Regions from separate parts of the Homo sapiens genome. Here region 1 is linked to region 2. Evidence: promoter capture Hi-C in human tissues and cell types (Jung and others, 2019). All regions are on one chromosome and are shown on one strand. Each heading gives the region's core, a stretch centred on a gene start or on the middle of the fragment in contact. The rest is flanking DNA. Distances are from core to core; before and after follow the strand shown. Region 1 holds the start of POU6F1 (POU class 6 homeobox 1). Region 2 overlaps ATF1 (activating transcription factor 1).

Evidence for each region. Contacts are between HindIII fragments. The study calls those that stand out against the background at their distance.
Region 1: the fragment with the promoter of POU6F1 here is called in contact with a fragment that was not itself captured in region 2 in 1 of the 25 tissues and cell types used here (aorta).

The regions. Positions count from the first base shown.
Region 1 is chr12:51,215,372-51,219,583 of GRCh38, forward strand. POU6F1 (POU class 6 homeobox 1) reads right to left here and starts at 2,691. Exons shown (of 11, transcript NM_001330422.2): 1 at 2,271-2,691. RefSeq lists silencers at 1,865-2,124, 2,355-2,514, 2,715-2,864 and an enhancer at 3,015-3,074. The HindIII fragment of the contact is 30,817 bases long and covers 1-4,212 here.
Region 2 is chr12:50,767,468-50,771,605 of GRCh38, forward strand. The region is part of intron 1 of ATF1 (activating transcription factor 1); the gene reads left to right. Among named protein-coding and RNA genes, the nearest start is that of ATF1, 5.4 kb to the left of the region's middle. RefSeq lists enhancers at 1,440-1,940, 1,941-2,441. The HindIII fragment of the contact is 6,244 bases long and covers 1-4,138 here.

The DNA of each region.
Region 1 (4,212 bases), core at 1,441-3,940, 450 kb after region 2:
TGGTGAAACCCCGTCTCTACTGAAAATACAAAAATTAGCCAGGCATGGTGGTGTGCGCCTATAGTTCCAGCTAGTTGGGAGGCCGAGGTGGGAGAATTGCTTGAACCCGGGAGGTGGAGGTTGCAGTGAGACCAAGATCGCGCCACTGCACTCCAGACTGAGCGACAGAGTGAAACCCTGTCTCAAAAAAAAAAAAAAAAAAAAAAGAGAGATTTCCAAGGTGTAGTATTGGGTTCTGGAGAACCCAGACCACACTGGCCCCTTCCTAAAGCGCCCGTCTAATTTCTCATTCCAAGCCTTCCTCCTGTGGCCAGTTTCTCCTGCATCCCACTCTCTCTTCTGCCTCATGAACCCTCATTTTGACATGAGGGGTCAAAGGCAGGTTTAAAGGCAGAAGACCCAGCTTGAGTACTGCTTCTACTAGAGGTAATCCCTATAAGCCTCCGTTTCCTTATCCAAAATGGAACCAAATTATAGTAACCACCTCATGGGTTATTGTGAGGATTAAATTGATAATATTTATGGAAGGCACTTAAAACAGGGCCTAGCATGAAGCAAACACTATATATATGTTTGTTATTATCATTGCTATTATTTTGAACTGAAGTAAAGCATGCATATAAAAATGTTTTAAATTATAAAGCATTTTAAAAATGTAAAAGATGGCCAGGCACGGTGGCTCACGCCTGTAATCCCAGCACTTTGGGAGGCCAAGACGGTTGGATTGCCTGAGCTAAGGAGTTCGAGACCAGCCTGGGCAACACGGTGAAACCCCATCTCTACTAAGATACAAAAAAATCAGCTAGACTCTGTCTCAAAAAAAAGAAAATGTAAAAGATTACTCTGATAATTTTATGGTGAGTAAATCTTGGGGACAAGAATATGAGCTTATCCCAAGTTCCTTCAAAATGCAGAAAAACCTTACAGGAGCAAATTTTTTCTGAGTCACTTTTCTTAACTGCCAGCTAGTACTTCCAGGAACAAAACAGAATAAATGGCTACATACACACACACTGACACACAATCACTCTATGGTATTACCTTGTTAGTTTTAATGTTTAGCATCTACTTGTCCACCCCCAGAATAAAAACTCCATGATAGAAGTTTTGTCTGAATTGTTCAGAGCATGGCACTGAGTGGGTATTTTTGTTGAACTAATGAAGAAATGAAGTTCTACAGCAGATAAGCGGAGTACCAGGTCACAGAAGTATCACTTTGAGGACCAGGACTTGAATGAAAATGGAATATATGGAATTATTCCTCAGAAGGCCTCTGCCAGTCAATGGTGGCTGCCTTAGATTGCTAAATAAGGGGCATGGGACACATGTATATGAACAATTGAAGACCAGCCCTCTACTTTTGGAACAAGGAATTTGGGAAGGGCAGATGAGGTTAAAAATCTCTGCAAAGAGCCTCTTTTCTTTGGCCCAGGAATGCTTCCCGAACTCTTCTGATTTCCCCCTGCCCAGCCGCAGAGGCTATTCTGTGAAGGTTTTAGGCTTCCAGTCGGGCTGAGTGGGGTATTCTGCCGCGAAAGTGGAGGTTAGAGGGTATGCTGGGAGCTCCCTTGGCCTTGCCAGGTGAGCCTGCCCAGGGAGCCTGCATCGGGCCCATTATTATGACTATTTATTAATAATAATATCGATATTAAATATTTATGAAGTGCTCATGCTCTGCTAGAAGGTGGCCCTCCCATCACTGACCCACCCTTCCAGCAACGCCTGGGTCCCTACCCCCGGGTCCCACCGGTCGTCCCGGAGTTTGTTCATTCGGGAGAACCGTGACAGGTCACCCTGGCCGCCCCAGCTGGCCCTAACCGCCGGGAACCCAGGCGTCCGTGTTCTCCAGAGAGGCAAGGATCCGCTTCTGGTCGCCACTGGTTCTGTGTACAGAGCGTCCCCTGTGGTCCGCACCCCACAAGGGCTCCAGGGGCAGAAACGGGGAGGGGCCAGGTCGGGGTTCCCCACCGGGTCCACCTGGCGGCCGCCCCCTCCGCTCCAGGTCCAGAGCGGCCCGCGGGCGGGCGAGGGCGCGGCCCCCGGGTGTCTAGCCCCAGCTGGGCAACCGCGCGCTGTCCCGCTCCCGCAGCTCCCCGCCGCCCCGGCCCAGCATCCCGCCGCCCCGGCCCCGCGGCTTTTTTTCTCTTTATCATAAATATATAAATTATGCTAATTACGGGCATTGCATATTAACCAAACCCGAAACCTCCCCTGCCCGGCCCCCTCCCCCTCCGTGCAAACCCCTCCCCGCCCCGGACCCCGCTACTTACCGGAGCCCGAGCCCGAGCCGCCTTCGCCGCGGGTGTCTGGCGGCCACCGATTAGAGATTCATCTCACAGCCCGGGCCAGGGGGCCGGGGCCGGGGCCGGGGCCACGGCGGCCGCCGCCCGCAGACAAAGAAGCCAGTGCGGCTTGGCTGGGCTCGGCTCGGCCCGGGAGCTGGTCGGGACCCGCCGCCGCCCCCAGGCCCCCAGCCTGGGCTGGGCAGAGCCGAAGGGGGCTCCGCAGGCTAAGCCGGGCGGAGAGGGGACGGCCGGGAAGCGGGAAGGGGAAGCCGGGTGGGGGGGCGGTCAGGTATATATTTTTCTTCGTTCCCCCTTCCACGACCCCCCCCTTTTCCCTCCCCCCCTTTTTTCCCTCCTTCTGCTACTTGGATTTTTTTAGCTGCTGCGTCATGAGCATAATTTATGCAAAGAGCTTTGCCGCATGCTGCACCGCCCGCGCCAGCCGCCGGGGGCGGCGGGCTGGGAGGGCGGTCAGGGAAGGGAGGGGAGCACGGGAGCCAGGAGCGAGGGGTGGGGGTGGGGAGGGGACCCTCTGGCCCTGGCCGAGCGGGAGGTCCCGGAGGCTCTCTCCCGGGACAGGGATGGACGGTCAGTGGGTCTGGTTACTCAGCCCCTCCGAGGTGCCGCGGAGGTGGTTTCATTTCGGAAGGTGCCAGAGTAGGAGCTGGAGTCCGGACCCTCCATGCCACATGGCCTTCAGCTGAGGGTTGGGGCGGTGACTCCCGGCCACCGCCTTTCCTCTAGGTAGTCAACTGTCCTCAATGTTGAAAGTCAAGTTTATGTCTATCCCTCCCTCCCTAGAAAGGCGGGGGAACTCAGACATCGCTCAGCCAACGTGGAGAACCTCTGAACAGCTGTGCCCCAGCGCCAAAGCAGCGAAGGGTCCCAGGTCTCTCACCCGGTGGCGGCCGTGGGCTGTGTTGTCTAAAAGCAGATTTCCGGCCTTCTTGTCCAAGTAGACAAGGAAATGTGAACAGAAAGACAAAGTTCAGTGGAATGGTGAAAAACCTCTAGCAGCTTCTTAAGGTAGAGAGGGGACCAGAAAAGGGGTGGATGTGGGTGGCTGAGGGAAAGCAGATTGGAGAAGTGGTGGACAACTGAAAGAGGAAAAAGTTGGAAGACCAAAGTGGAAGCGTGGGAATGGAGAGAAGAACTGGGAAGGAAGGAGGCTCTGTAAATCCAGTGAATGTGGATCCCAATACTGAGGCCACCTGCTGTCATCCTAGGCTGTTCCCCCTCCCACCCTCTCCCGATATTTGGTGGTCTGAGGATAGCTAGAGGTAGATGGGTTAGAGGCAGTGTGAGAATGCAGTTGGAGGCCTCAGTCCTCCCCGGGACTGCTCCGTAAGGCCTCGTGGTGGAAGGGCATTGAATGGCCCGGCCTCGTCGTTAACCTGGCCAGTGGACTAGGCTGTTATCAGCTTGCTGTTTCCATCTGGAAGTGAGCAGGTACTGCTGGCGGCGGATTTATGAGTAACCAATGTATTAGGAGTCAGAATACTTAGGTTTTAGTCCCAACTCTTCCACTAGCCGTCCAGGCAAGTAATTTAACTTCTTCATTACTTATAAAACAAGGATAATATTTATAATGACATTTATAATGACTACTTCATAGGGTTAAGTTTGTGAGCCTGTATGTGAAAAAACTGAAAGCTGCAAGCTCTATACAACTGTAAGGTGTCATTCCTTGTACAATAGTTTGAACTCGTTTTAATGGCCCTGTGAAACTCTACTGCGTGGCTTGATATTACAGTTCTTGGGGTTTTTGTTTGGCCGGTAGTCCCTGTAGTTTCTCTCCCTGGACTGTGAATTCTTTGAGAGCACTGGTTGTGACTTACTCATGTTTGTATTTCCCACTACTCTTTATGTGAAGGAGGGGCTCAGTATTGCTGCTGAACTTTGTCACATGAAGGTTGAAACTTTTCAT
Region 2 (4,138 bases), core at 1,095-3,594:
CGAGATCGTGCCACTGCACTCCAGCCTGGCAACAGAGCGAGACTCCATGTCCATCTCAAAAAAAGAAAAAAAAGAACACCTGTAAGCTCGCTTTTCAAGATGACCCAGCAAGCTGGTCAGTAAGATACTTGGCTGCAGGTCCCTGTAACAAATAAAAGACTGGATGAAGTCTCCACCTTGTTTTACGTCCTTGGGAGCTTGACCTTTTAACCATGTGGTGGTACTTTCTTTTGGTCCCCACCTTCAGAGAACAGGAATTTCAGGATTCATGTCATAGTTAGCTCTAAAAATAATATTAAATAGTTAAAAGCCCTTATAAGCTCAAAATTAACTACTCTAGACTCCTTCTGGGAAGGTCAACAGAGACTGCCCTGTGCTGTAGCTCAGTAGCTAAGCTTTTGCACTTTCTTTTTTTTTTTTTTTGAGATGGAGTCTTGCTCTGTCGCCCAGGCTGGAGTGCAGTGGTGCGATCTCAGCTCACTGCAACCTCCGCCTCCCGAGTTCAAGTGATTTGCCTGCGTCATCTTCCCAAGTAGCTGGGATTACAGGTGTGTGCCACTACGCCCAGCTAATTTTTGTATTTTTAGTAGAGATGGGGTTTCATCATATTGGGCAGGCTGGTCTCGAACTCCTGACCTCAGGTGATCCACCTGCCTCAGCCTCCTAAACTGATGGGATTACAGGCATGAGCCACCGCACCCAGCCAGCTTTTGCACTTCCGTGGCAACAGTCCAGGTTCAATTACCCACCTAGGAAGTAAGTCGTTTCTGGTTTAATATCTGCATGACTTTGTCTATTCTCTTCTCCTCTGTGAACTGTCTTATATTTTCCTTTTTCTAAGCACCTGGGAGGTTACCTTTGATAAAATTCAAAAGCCAGAAATACCAGCCGTTTGGCATAAAAACTTCTAAAAGGACTTTATTAAAGAGTGCTATGGTTAAAATAAGTTTAATTAAAAGTGGATATTCAAGCTCTAACAGCCTGGACTCCTTGGGAAAAACAAGAGGCACCAGAGACCCCTTTCGTGGCCCTGTTCTTCCAAGGGCTCCACCCTGAAGCCGGTAATCCAATTAAGAAACTTAAAAACTGGCAAATGAAAAATCTTACAACCACTGTTATCATCATCATCTGTCTTTCTGTGTAGCTATATAGGTGTCGTGTGTAATATTTATATAAAAGAGCTCTGATTAATCAGCTTAAACAAAAATAAACATTTAAATCAAATATTTTGAAAGCAAAATAACTAATGCCTTTTAGTTCATGTAACTTTAGTAATCTTTAGGAAATAAACACATCTTTAAAATTGATAAAAATGTTAATCTTAATTATGCAGGTCAGATATTAAGTTTGTTAAATGATTTGAGGTCATAAACTGTTTCTTTGACTTTTAAAAATTGTTCAATTTACCCTACCTTAAAGCCATTAGATTCTAGATAAGGCCTGGGGACATGTGGAGTTAGCCACGCCCCTAAGCTGTGCTGGAGAGTCAGCTCTTATCTGCACTTCTGCCTGGTGTGTCCTAGGCTAGGCTCCACACCTAGTACATAATTAAAATTGCTTACTAACCAGGGTTTTCACCAAAAGTAAAAGTCGCTAAAAGTTAAAATTGGAACATGTAACTGAGACTATTGAAGAGACAGTTTTACATGTAAGGTGTGTAGTAAGGAAAATAGAATGTACTTTTGGTAAAAGATTATAAGAAGGCATGGAAATGTGGGGTTTTTTGGCTAAAGAGTTAAATAATTATTCTAAGTTGGCCGGGCACAGTGGCTCAAACCTGTAATCCCAGCACTTAGGGAGGTCGAGGCAGATGGATCACCTGAGGTTAGGAGTTTGAGACCAGTCTGGCCAACATGGTGAAACCCCATCTCTATCAAAAAATACAAAAGTTAGCCGGGCATGGTGGCGCACACCTGTAGTCACAGCTACTCGAGGCTGAGGCAGGAGAAGCGCTTGAACCTGGGAGGGGGAGGTTGCAGTGATCTGAGATTGCACCACTGCACTCTATCCAGCCTGGGTGACAGAGCGAGACTCCATCTCAAAAAAAAAAAAAATTCATACAGGAAGCATTATCAAATGTCAAATGGTGTTTTGCTTTCTTTGGATTATATTTACATAACTGTATTATTGGTATATGTTCCAAAGTTATGGGAAACTCCTATAATTCTAATATGATTTAGTGTATGTTATTAATAATTATAATTGTTATGCAAAATATTGTGTGCCACAGAAGTAACCAAATTTCCTTATCATTTCTGGCTTTAATAGTGGCTCTCCTAAAACTTTTTATCATCCACAGACAATTGTTGTCTTGTTTTAATCCTGTTTAGAAGATGATTTATAATCAGCTATAGAACTCTAGCAGGTGTTCTTAAATGCAGGTTTCTAATAACTTTGGAAATTGTAACATTAGAATAGAGGAAACAACTTTCAGAACTCATGAAGAGCTAGAATGTTCATGAATATCAAATGAAACATGAGTTAATTGAATCAACTGAACCAATAGAAAACTGAAGTAATCTTTGATTAAAATGTTGCTGATCCTTTGTTTTGTTTTTCAGAGTCAAGGAAACTTTTCATTTGAGCTATTTACAGTTCATAGCAATTGAGTAAAGTATACTGCTGTGAACGAAATTTGGAACATATTTGTTTCTCTATATCAGATTTCTCCAGAATTTGGAAACTAGTTGTGAGTATTCTTAACTTATGGCAATGTAATTATTTGCATAAGTGCAATAAGAATCTGTTTTCTTTTGTAACAGAATACAATTGGAGAAAGTGGTTATTTTACCAAGGCTTTGACTGAAATGGTGTGCTTTTCTTTAAGGAATCAAACTTGACTTGTAGAGCCAATAAAAGCCCTTTGGGGAACTGGCCTCATACCTTGCCTACACAGTGCCTGTACAGGGTTTCTGACCTATGGTAAGTAAAGAATGTCACTTTCTCACCTGTCCAGGAGCCCCAAGTTATCTTGGGACCTCAAAAGGAGAGAAATTTACCCAAGTTATAGGTATTTAAGGGTACAAACCCATGTCAGGGCTTGGCTTTTAAAAAAGTCTTATCTGAGATTCCTTATGAAACAGAGTTCCATCAAAGCCAATTAAAAAGCCTATGTGAAAAATTATTATTCTTGCTGCACTTTATACAAACAATCAGGCCAAGTATAATAAAGCAAGTCAGTCTTACCATAATTTGTCTTTAGTAAAAATGGGAAACTGGAGAGAGAAATACTATGTTTCAAAAACTATGGTACACTTGTTATTAAATTCTGGTCTCATTAATTGTTTTTAAGTTTGTTTCTGCAATTTAGGCTAACCCTGCGTATTCTTGTAAACCAACCAGTAATCTCTAATTGTTGCTCAGAAGAAATAAGAGGGATGGGTAATTTAAAAATCTGGATCAGTATTCTGATTCTGGGCACATTACAATCAGCTAACAACCCGATATCAGCTTAGTTCCAGTGGTTGCCTGGTTCATGAAAAGTCTTCTAATTTAGTTTATTTGGAATAACTTTACTTATTTTGCTTTACTCTTTTTTTTTTCTTTCTTTCTTTTTGAGACAGAGTCTTGTTCTGTCGCCCAGGCTGGACTGCAGTGACACCATCTTGGCTCACTGCAGCCTCCGCCTCCTGGGTTCAAGTGATTCTCCTGCCTCAGCCTCCCAAGTAGCTAGAATTACAGGCACACATCACAACGCCCAGCTGACTTTTATATTTTTAGTAGAGATAGGGTTTCACCATGTTGGCCAGGCTGGCCTCGAACTCCTGACCTCAGGTAATCCACCTGCCTCGGCCTCCCAAAGTGCTGGATTACAGGTGTGAGCCACTGTACCCAGCCTATTTTGCTTTACTCTTGTGGAATATATTGCTGTTATACTTTTTGTGTAGGAATACAGGACAAGCTTACTGAACGTTTTCTTACTAATTTTCCAGATACCACCTTTTGTTGAAACTTGAGTTATGAATGAACCTTACCATACTGATGCTTTCTGACTGAGCTCCTTTTTACCCTGAATGCAAGAGACCCTCATAGGCAGGCAGGAATATCATTGCCCTATTTAGCCTGAAGAAGTTATAGAAGATGGATCTTCGTCCCTCTGCAACCCTTAGGATTAAGGGTTCTCTTAGACGGGGGGAAA